Linked DNA regions of Homo sapiens: all the other regions are linked to region 3. The links are contacts of gene promoters, found by promoter capture Hi-C in human tissues and cell types (Jung and others, 2019). All regions are on one chromosome and are shown on one strand. Each heading gives the region's core, a stretch centred on a gene start or on the middle of the fragment in contact. The rest is flanking DNA. Distances are from core to core; before and after follow the strand shown. Region 1 holds the start of DOCK6 (dedicator of cytokinesis 6). Region 2 overlaps TSPAN16 (tetraspanin 16). Region 3 holds the start of KANK2 (KN motif and ankyrin repeat domains 2).

What was found. The method cuts DNA at HindIII sites, captures the fragments that hold promoters and counts their contacts. A contact is called where the count stands out against the background at its distance.
Region 1: a contact is called between the fragment with the promoter of DOCK6 here and the fragment with the promoter of KANK2 in region 3, in 6 of the 25 tissues and cell types used here (aorta, dorsolateral prefrontal cortex, lymphoblastoid cells and 3 more).
Region 2: a contact is called between a fragment that was not itself captured here and the fragment with the promoter of KANK2 in region 3, in 2 of the 25 tissues and cell types used here (dorsolateral prefrontal cortex and lymphoblastoid cells).

Annotation. Positions count from the first base shown.
Region 1 is chr19:11,261,104-11,263,803 of GRCh38, forward strand. It overlaps DOCK6 (dedicator of cytokinesis 6), which reads right to left and starts at 1,421. Exons shown (of 48, transcript NM_020812.4): 1 at 1,294-1,421. The coding sequence starts at 1,337. RefSeq lists silencers at 996-1,135, 1,216-1,275, 1,346-1,505. The HindIII fragment of the contact is 27,433 bases long and covers 1-2,700 here.
Region 2 is chr19:11,305,434-11,308,133 of GRCh38, forward strand. TSPAN16 (tetraspanin 16) reads left to right here. Exons shown (of 7, transcript NM_001282509.2): 5 at 1,171-1,323. All of the region lies in intron 1 of TSPAN16-AS1 (TSPAN16 antisense RNA 1), which reads right to left. Among named protein-coding and RNA genes, the nearest start is that of TSPAN16, 11 kb to the left of the region's middle. The HindIII fragment of the contact is 9,661 bases long and covers 1-2,700 here.
Region 3 is chr19:11,196,146-11,198,845 of GRCh38, forward strand. KANK2 (KN motif and ankyrin repeat domains 2) reads right to left here and starts at 1,400. Exons shown (of 13, transcript NM_001136191.3): 1 at 1,340-1,400. RefSeq lists a silencer at 1,264-1,883. The HindIII fragment of the contact is 26,033 bases long and covers 1-2,700 here.

The DNA.
Region 1 (2,700 bases), core at 171-2,670, 65 kb after region 3:
CTCACCTGGGGTCCAAAGTCAAAGTCCCTTGCACAGCCCACACGACCCTGTACATTCTACTCTTACTGTCCCCCTCCAGCTCTCTGTTCCTGCCTCAGGGCCTTTGCACAAACCCTTCCCACTCTTTCCCCCCACAAACTGGCCTCGATCGATCCCTCTCTCATCTCCTTGAGGTTTTTGCTCAAAGGCACCTGCTCATCCAGGCCTTCCTGACCCACCTCCCGCATCTCAAGCAGCCCCCACCCTCCCATCCCCCTTCCCTGTCTTCTTGTCCCTACAGCACTTGTCACTGACAGGTAATCTACTCGATCAGGCTTCTGGTCTCTCTCCGCCACTATATCCCAAGAGGGGGATCTTTTGTCTCCATAAGACCAGGGCCCAACCCACAGGGCAGCTCTTTCACCTGGGGGCAGTCAGGACAGGTCCCCCGGGGAGAGGATACCTGAGCTTCTGAACGCACCCTTGTCGCAAAGACCCCCCGCCAACTGGGGGCGAGGCTTTTCAGCCCCAGAGAGTCTGATATACCCCTCCCAGGCTGTGACTCTCACAATCCCCAGTGGCCACGGAAATGGATCCCCCAGCGCCTGGGGCCTGTCCCCTCCCCCGTCTGCCCACCAGCTGGTTCTGTCCCCAGCCCCCACTCCCTCCATTCAATCACCCATCCATCCCCAGCGCGGTCCAGCCCGTGACGGGAGAGCCTGAAGCAGAAGGTGGGGGGGCGTCCACAGCTGTCCCCCTTCCCCCCCCCCGACAGCTGGGCACTGGACCCTGGAGGGGGAAGGGCACGGGAAACTCCTCGAGGGGTTTCAAACGCCACCAAGGAGCCCATCTCTGTCCCCAAATCTCAGAGCCTGGAGCCTCCCTGCCCCAAACCAGGCACTGAGGAAGGAACAGAAAGTCCGGCCCACCCCGATCTCCGAGAGCGCGGGGACAGTGAGGGGCCGAGAGGCGGACGGGGAGCGCAGGGAGTTCAGGGGGCGCCCGTCATCCGCATCCCCACGCCACCTCCTCCGGGAAGCCCTCCGGACACACCCCCGCGCGTCACGGAGGCAGAACGGCAGCCGCCATCGCGCTCCCAGCCCCGACGCGACTCCCATCTGGGACCCCCGCCGGGACCCCCGCGGCCCTCCCCGCCTTCTCCCGCTCCCAGCCCCGGCCGGAGGAAGCTGGCGGGACCCGGGCCGAGGCGGAAAGGGGTTGAATTGGGGGCGCCCGGGCGGGGAGGGTCGCACCGCCCCGGGGCGGAGCCGGGCCACGTGGGGGAGGTGGGAGGGGGCCCCGCGGCCACACTACCTGTTGATCTTGTGCGCGAAGGCGCGGCGCTCGGAGGCAGCCATGGTCCTCGCGTCCCGCCGCCGCCGCCCCGGGCCCCGGCCCCGCCGCCGCCGCCGCCTCCCGGTTCTGGGCAGCCGGGGCGGGGCGGGGCCGGCGCGGGGGCGGGGCCCTTCCGGGTGGCCCGGGCCGCTCCGTGCTGCCCCTGCAGGCCGGAGGGGTCGCCTGGAGTCCTGGGGGCTGGGGAAACTGAGGCTGGGGACGGAGAGGAGGCCCCGGGATCCAGGCTGGGCGGGCCCCAGACTCCCGGGCTGGGGGGACGCTCTTTCTACCCTAGGAGAAGGGCTGGGGAAACTGAGGCTGAGGAGGGAAGTTAGGGAGAGGAGGCGCTGGGACCCAGACTGGGGGTGCCCCAGACTCCCGAGCTGGCGGGGGCGCTCTTTCCACCCTGGGAGCTGGGCTGGAGAAACTGAGCCTGAGGAGGGAGGGAGGGAAGGGAGGCGCTGAGACCCGGGCTAGGTGGACCCCAGGCTCCCGGGGTTTAGTGGGGTGGTCTTACCACCCCAGGAGCAGGGCTGGGGAAACTGAAGCTCAGGAGGGAGGGAGGGAGGGGAGGCGCTGGGACCCAGGCTGGGTAGGCCCCAGATTTCCGGGGTTTGGGGGGCGCTCTTTCTGCCCTCTGACTCCTGGCTGGAAAACAATAACGATGTTCATGTATCTAATAATCATACCTGTAAGTATAATCGTGGCCGTGCATGGTGGCTCATGCCTGTAATCCCAGCACTGTGGGGGGCCAAGGCAGGAGGATTGTTTGAGCCCAGGAGTTGGAGACCAGCCTGGGCAACATAATGAGACCCCGTGTCCACAAAAAATGCAAAAATTAACCAGGCATGGTGGTGTGTGCCTGTAATCTCAGCTACTTGGGAGTCTGAGGGAGGAGGATCGCTTGAGCCTGGGAGGTCAAGGCTGCAGTGAGCTGTGATTGTGCCATTTCAATCCAGCCTGGGTGACAGAGCGAGACCCTGTCTCAAAAAGTCTAATTGCTAAGATGTCATTGAGCCTGGCCCTGCAATTCACACATGCAGAAGAAATTATTGTTTTCCTCCTTTTACAGATGAGTAAACTGAGGCACAGAGGTGTTCGGGTGCTTGCTCAGTGTGACTCACAGGGGTCTCCAGCGCCTGCATTGTCCGTGCTCCCAGTCTACAGCATGGGAGTCAGAGGAGCCTGGCTAGGCACTGGAGTGCTCGGAGATGTGCCCCAGGTCCAGGTGGTGGGACCTGAGTGAGCCAGTTTGGGAGTCTAGACTTTCGGGGCCGCCTCTACCAAGAGGAAGAGGTGGGGATGTCTTGGTTAATCTATGGTCTCAAATCTCTCCCCACTGGCCTCTCTCCCAGCACTGCTGCAGCATTTTTAGAGAATTCTCCA
Region 2 (2,700 bases), core at 36-2,535, 110 kb after region 3:
GTAGGAGAATTGCTTGAACCCAGGAGGTGGAAGTTGCAGAGAGCCAAGATCGCGCCATTGCACTCCAACCTGGGCAACAGACAGAGACTGTGTCTCAAAAAAAATAATAAAAATAAAAATAAAAATAAAAATAAAAATAAAATCCTTGTTGGGCCAGGTGCAGTGGCTCACATCTGTAATCCTAGCACTTTGGGAGGCTGAGATGGGTGGATCGCTTGAGGCTAAGAGTTTGAGACCAGCCCAGGCAACATAGCAAGACCCATCTCTACAATAGATAAAAAATGTAGCCAGGCGTGATGGCCTGCACCTGTAGTCCCAGCTACTCAGGAGGCAGAGGAGGGAGAATCGCTTGAGCCCAGAAGATTGAGGTTGCAGTAAGCTACGATCTCAGCACTGCACTTCAAATTCATTCTTCCATTACTGACATGTGAATGAAGAGATGGGCAATCTCTGGTTCTTCCGTTACTGACATGTGAGTGGAGAGATGGGCAAGAAACCAATAACTAAACATTGGTATCAGGTTCATAACTGCTGTGAATAAAAACAAGGCAGGGCCGGGCACGGTGGCTCACGCCGCTAATCCCAGCACTTTGGGAGGACAAGGAGGGTGGATCACTTGAGGTCAGGAATTCGAGACCAGCCTGGCCAACGTGGCATAAACCTGTCTCTACTAAAAATACAAAAATTAGCCAGGCGTGGGGGCGTGTGCCTGAAATCCCAGCTACTCGGGAGACTGAGGCAGGAGAATCACTGAGGAGTTCAGCTTTTTTTTCTTTTTAGAGACAGGTCTTGCTCTGTTGCCCAGGGTGGAATGTAGTGGTGAGGTCATAGCTCACTGCAGCCTTGATCTCCCGGGCTCAAGAGATCCTCTAGCCTGAGCCTCCTGAGTAGCTGGGAATACCGGCATCTGCCACCATGCCTGGCTAATTTTTAAATTTTTTTGCCGAGATGGGGTCTCACCCTGTTGCCCAGGCTAGGAGTTCAGCTTTTACCCTGAGTGAGATGGGAGCCAGGGAGGGTTCTGGGCTGTGATGGGATGTTTGTAAGAGGATGTTTAGCACAGTCTCTGGGATATTGTGACCATACTAGACGGTAGCCATGGTAACCGTGATTTCTGATGTTTTTATTATTTGAAAGGGACTCTCCAAGTATTTCTTCTCCTCTCTATAGCTAAAGTGCTGTGGGGTGAATAACTACACAGATTTTTCTGGCTCTTCCTTCGAAATGACAACGGGCCACACCTACCCCAGGAGTTGCTGTAAATCCATCGGAAGTGTGTCCTGTGACGGACGCGATGTGTCTCCAAACGTCATCCACCAGAAGGTAACTGGAGATTTTGTGTGTTGCCTTGACAGACCCCTGAGGGCTGGTGACTTCATTTTTATTTTTATCTTATTTTGAGAAAGAGTTTCACCCTTGTCACCCAGGCTGGAGTGCAGTGGTGCGATCTCGGCTCACTGCAACCTCCGCCTCCCAGGTTCAAGTGATTCTCCCGCCCCAGCCTCCCAAGTAGCTGGGATCACAGGCATGCACCGCCACACCCGGCTAATTTTGTATTTTTAGTAGAGATGGGGTTTCACCATGTTGGCCAGGCTGGTCTCGAACCTCAGGTGATCCACCCACCTTGGCCTCCCAAAGTGCTGGGATTACAGGCATGAGCTACTGTACCCAGCCTTTTTATTTATTTATTTAGTTAGTTATTTTGAGATGGAGTTTCACTGTGTCTCCCAGGCTGGAGTGCAATGGTGCCATCTTGGCTCACTGCAACCTCCGCCTCCTGGGTTCAAGTGATTCTCCTGCCTCAGCCTCCCGAGTAGCTGGGATTACAGGTGTGTGCCACCACGCCCGGCTGATTTTTGTATTTTTACTAGAGATGGGGTTTCCTCATGTTGGCCAGGCTGGTCTCAAACTCCTGAGCTCAAGTGATCCTCCCACCTCGGCCTCCCAAAGTGCTGGGATTACAGGCATGAGCCACCACACCCGGCCTTATTTTTATTTTTTTAGAGATAGGGTCTCACTCTGTTGCCCAGGCAGGAGTGCAATGGTGCAATCACGGCTCACTGCAGCCTCAAACTCCTGGGCTCAAGTGATCCTCCTGCCTCAGCCTCCCGAGTAGCTGGGACCACAGGCACGTGCCACCATGCCTGGCTAATTTTTTTTTAATTTTTATTTTTAATAGAGATGAGGCCTTAGTATGTTGCCCAGGCTGGTCTCGAACTCCTGGCCTCAAGCAATCCTCCTGCCTCAGCCTCTCAAAATGCTGGGATTACAGGCATGAACCACCACACCCAGCCTGGTAACTTTAATAAAAATTGCTTCTTTTGGGGGACCCCTGCAAAGGGGGTCAGGGAGAAAGAAATCAACTCTTATTGAGTGTTCAGCTTATTTTGACAACACAGAGCAGGGACTTACGGTTACCTTCTCTCAGAAACTGAGGCTCGGGGAGGGGACATCACTAGTTCAAGATCACAGAGCTTTGGCAGAGTTGGAATTTGAAGCCCCATTGGCCTGAGTCCATTGCCGGCACCACACTACCTGCCTTCTAGAGACCCTAAATGGAGCAATAACCATGAAAAGTGATCATCCTAGCGGGAGTGAGGGCCAGCCACGTGATGGAGCACTCACTTTGTGAGTTTTGTCCCATCCTATCCCTTGAGGTGGGGAACTACTCTTCTCTCATTTTGCAGATAAGGAAACTGA
Region 3 (2,700 bases), core at 150-2,649:
CCTCCCAGGTTCAAGCGATTCTCCTGCCTCAGCCTCCTGAGTAGCTGGGATTACAGGCACCTGCCACCACGCCTAGCTAATTCTGTATTTTTAGTAGAGATGGTGTTTCTCCATGTTGGTCAGGCTGGTCTCGAACTCCTGACCTCAGGTGATCCGCCCGCCTTGGCCTCCCAAAGTGCTGGGATTACAGGCATGAGCCACTGCACCCAGCCTAACATCAACTCTTTTAATTGTCATGACAATTCTATGAGATGGGCACTTATCGCCCCGTTTCACAGACAGGGGATGCAGAGGGTACAGAAAGGTACAGTGGCTTCCTCGGGGTCACTGGGGCCATGGGGAAGTGGCTGGGCCTGAACATGAACCTAAGCCTGGTGGATCCCCCCACTGCCCACCAAGCCACCACCCTCAGACTCCACATCAGATATCTCTACCCGTTTCCCAGATACGGAGACTGAGGTCTGAGGGTACTCAGTCATCTCACCGCCCTCGATGAGGACCAGCACGTCCCGAGTAAGGGGAAGAGAAAGGAGACGAGGGGGTGTGGTGGGGGAGATGGATGTCTGTGGCTGAGACCCTTCTCTCGCCATGGGACCCCTGGGGAATGGGGAAGGGGTGACAGGATAAGACAGAGATGGAGAGACTGGAGCCTATAAGAGGGGACAGGTAGGGAGCGCAGGGAAGGGGCGCGGGTCTCCCCAACCCACCACCCAAGACCGGCCTGCACATCGCGGAGGTCGGTGGTGGTGGTGGGGGGGGGTCTTCCCGCCCCAAACTCGGGGTGGGGGGAGGCGAGAAGGACCCCGCCCCGTGCAGAGAGGGGGCGGGGCCTGTGGGATCCCGGGCTAATGGCAAACAGCTGCCGCTCCCCACGCCGGCCCAGCCGCCAAGCCCAGGCCCAGCCCGGCCGGACGCCCGGCCGCCTTCCCGCCGTCTGGGGCATGGCCGCGGAGGAGGGCGAGGGGGGACAGTGCGGGGAGAGGGCAGAGCCGGGGAGGAACAGAGGCAGAAAGTGGGACAGAGACAGGGGAGAGCGGGCAGAGGGGAGCCAAGACAGGAGAAACGGGCAGGGCACGAGGAATCGATGGGGGGTACTGGGAGGAATCGATGGGGGTATGGGGTCAAAGACGAGGAGGGGGCAGGGACGCGGGGACAGACACTCCAAGTCTGGAAAGTTTGGGCACAGAAGGTGGAGTTGGAGGCAGCGGCTCGTTGAGACCAGCGAGGTCGTGTCCCAGGGTTGGAGGCGGGGGGTAGGGTAGTAGGTGTGTGTGGAGGGGGTGCACACTCGATCCCCGAACCAGACTTGAACCCCTACCCAGCCCCGGGTCCCACTCGCCTTGCGCGCTCCGGCCGCTGCCTTCCCTGGGTCCCGCCGCCCGAGCGTCTTCGCGCGCGCCGCAGCCTGGGCGCCCGGCCCTCGGAGGTGGCTCCGCCCGCACCACGCCCCCTCCGGCTGGTCCCGCCCCCCCAGCCGGCACCGCCCCCTCCAGCCGCCCGGGCGCCCCGGCCGCGGTGGGGGGTGGGGATGGAGAGACGCTGGTTGGAGACTGGATCTCACCTGGACAGCAGGTGTGTGTGCGCGCCGGGGTGTCCGGCCTCGTCCTTCCTTCCTCCCTAAGTCCCCGAGGCAGGGTCCTCCCACTGCCGGCCTCCCCCCCACCGCCTGCTGTCCCTGGGCCGCTGCGGGGGGCGGAACGGCTCGGCGGCGGGAGGGGGTGGAGCTGGCCGGGGCCCAGCTCGGGGAGGGCGCGCGGGGCGGGCGCGGCAGCGGGAGGTCACCCCTCCCCCAGGCGGCCCAGGGCTGGAAGCGGCCCAGCGCAGTCCTGGCACACGGTGGCGTGACCGCCGCGCGAGAAGGGAGGCTGCAGAGTCCTGGGCGCCGGCGCCAGCCAGACCTGCATTCCCATCCCAGACCCACCAAACTTTTGCTGCTCTGTGCCTCAGTTTATTCATCTGTAAAATGGAGATGATCATGTTAGCTACCTGATAGGAGCGTTGAGAAGATTCACTGACCATTAGGAAGGGGCCTAACCATCAGGAAGGAGGCCCTTCGGGTTAAAAACTCTCATAAATGGAGTGGCCTACTTTTGCAGAGATCTTTCTGGGAGCCCTTTTAGTACACAGCCAGCCACTCAGCAAGGGCTTAATAAATATTATTAAGCCGGCGAGGTGGCTCACACCTGTAATCTCAGTGCTTAGGGAGGCCAAGGCAAGAGGACTGCTTGAACTCAGGAGTTCGAGACCAGCCTGGGCAACATAGCAAGACCCTGTCTATGCAAAAAAATTTTTAAGTGAAAAAAAATTAGGCCAGGCGCAGTGGCTCATGCCTGTAATCGTAGCACTTTGGGAGGCCAAGGTGGGCGGATTATTTGAGCCAAGGAGTTGGAGACCAGCTTTGGCAATATGGTAAGACGCCATCTCTACAAAAAACAAAATACAAAAAACCACCTGGGGCCGAGAAATGGCTCATGCCTGTAATCCCAGCACTTTGGGAGTCCGAGGTGGGTGGATCATCTGAGGTCAGGAGTTCAAGACCAGCCTGGCCAACATGGTGAAACCCCTTCTCTACTAAAAATACAAAAACTATCCTGGCATGGTGGTGCACATCTGTAATCCCAGCTACTCGGGAGGCTGAGGTATGAGAATAACTTGAATCTGGGAGGTGGAGGTTGCCGTGAGCCGAGATTGCACCACTGC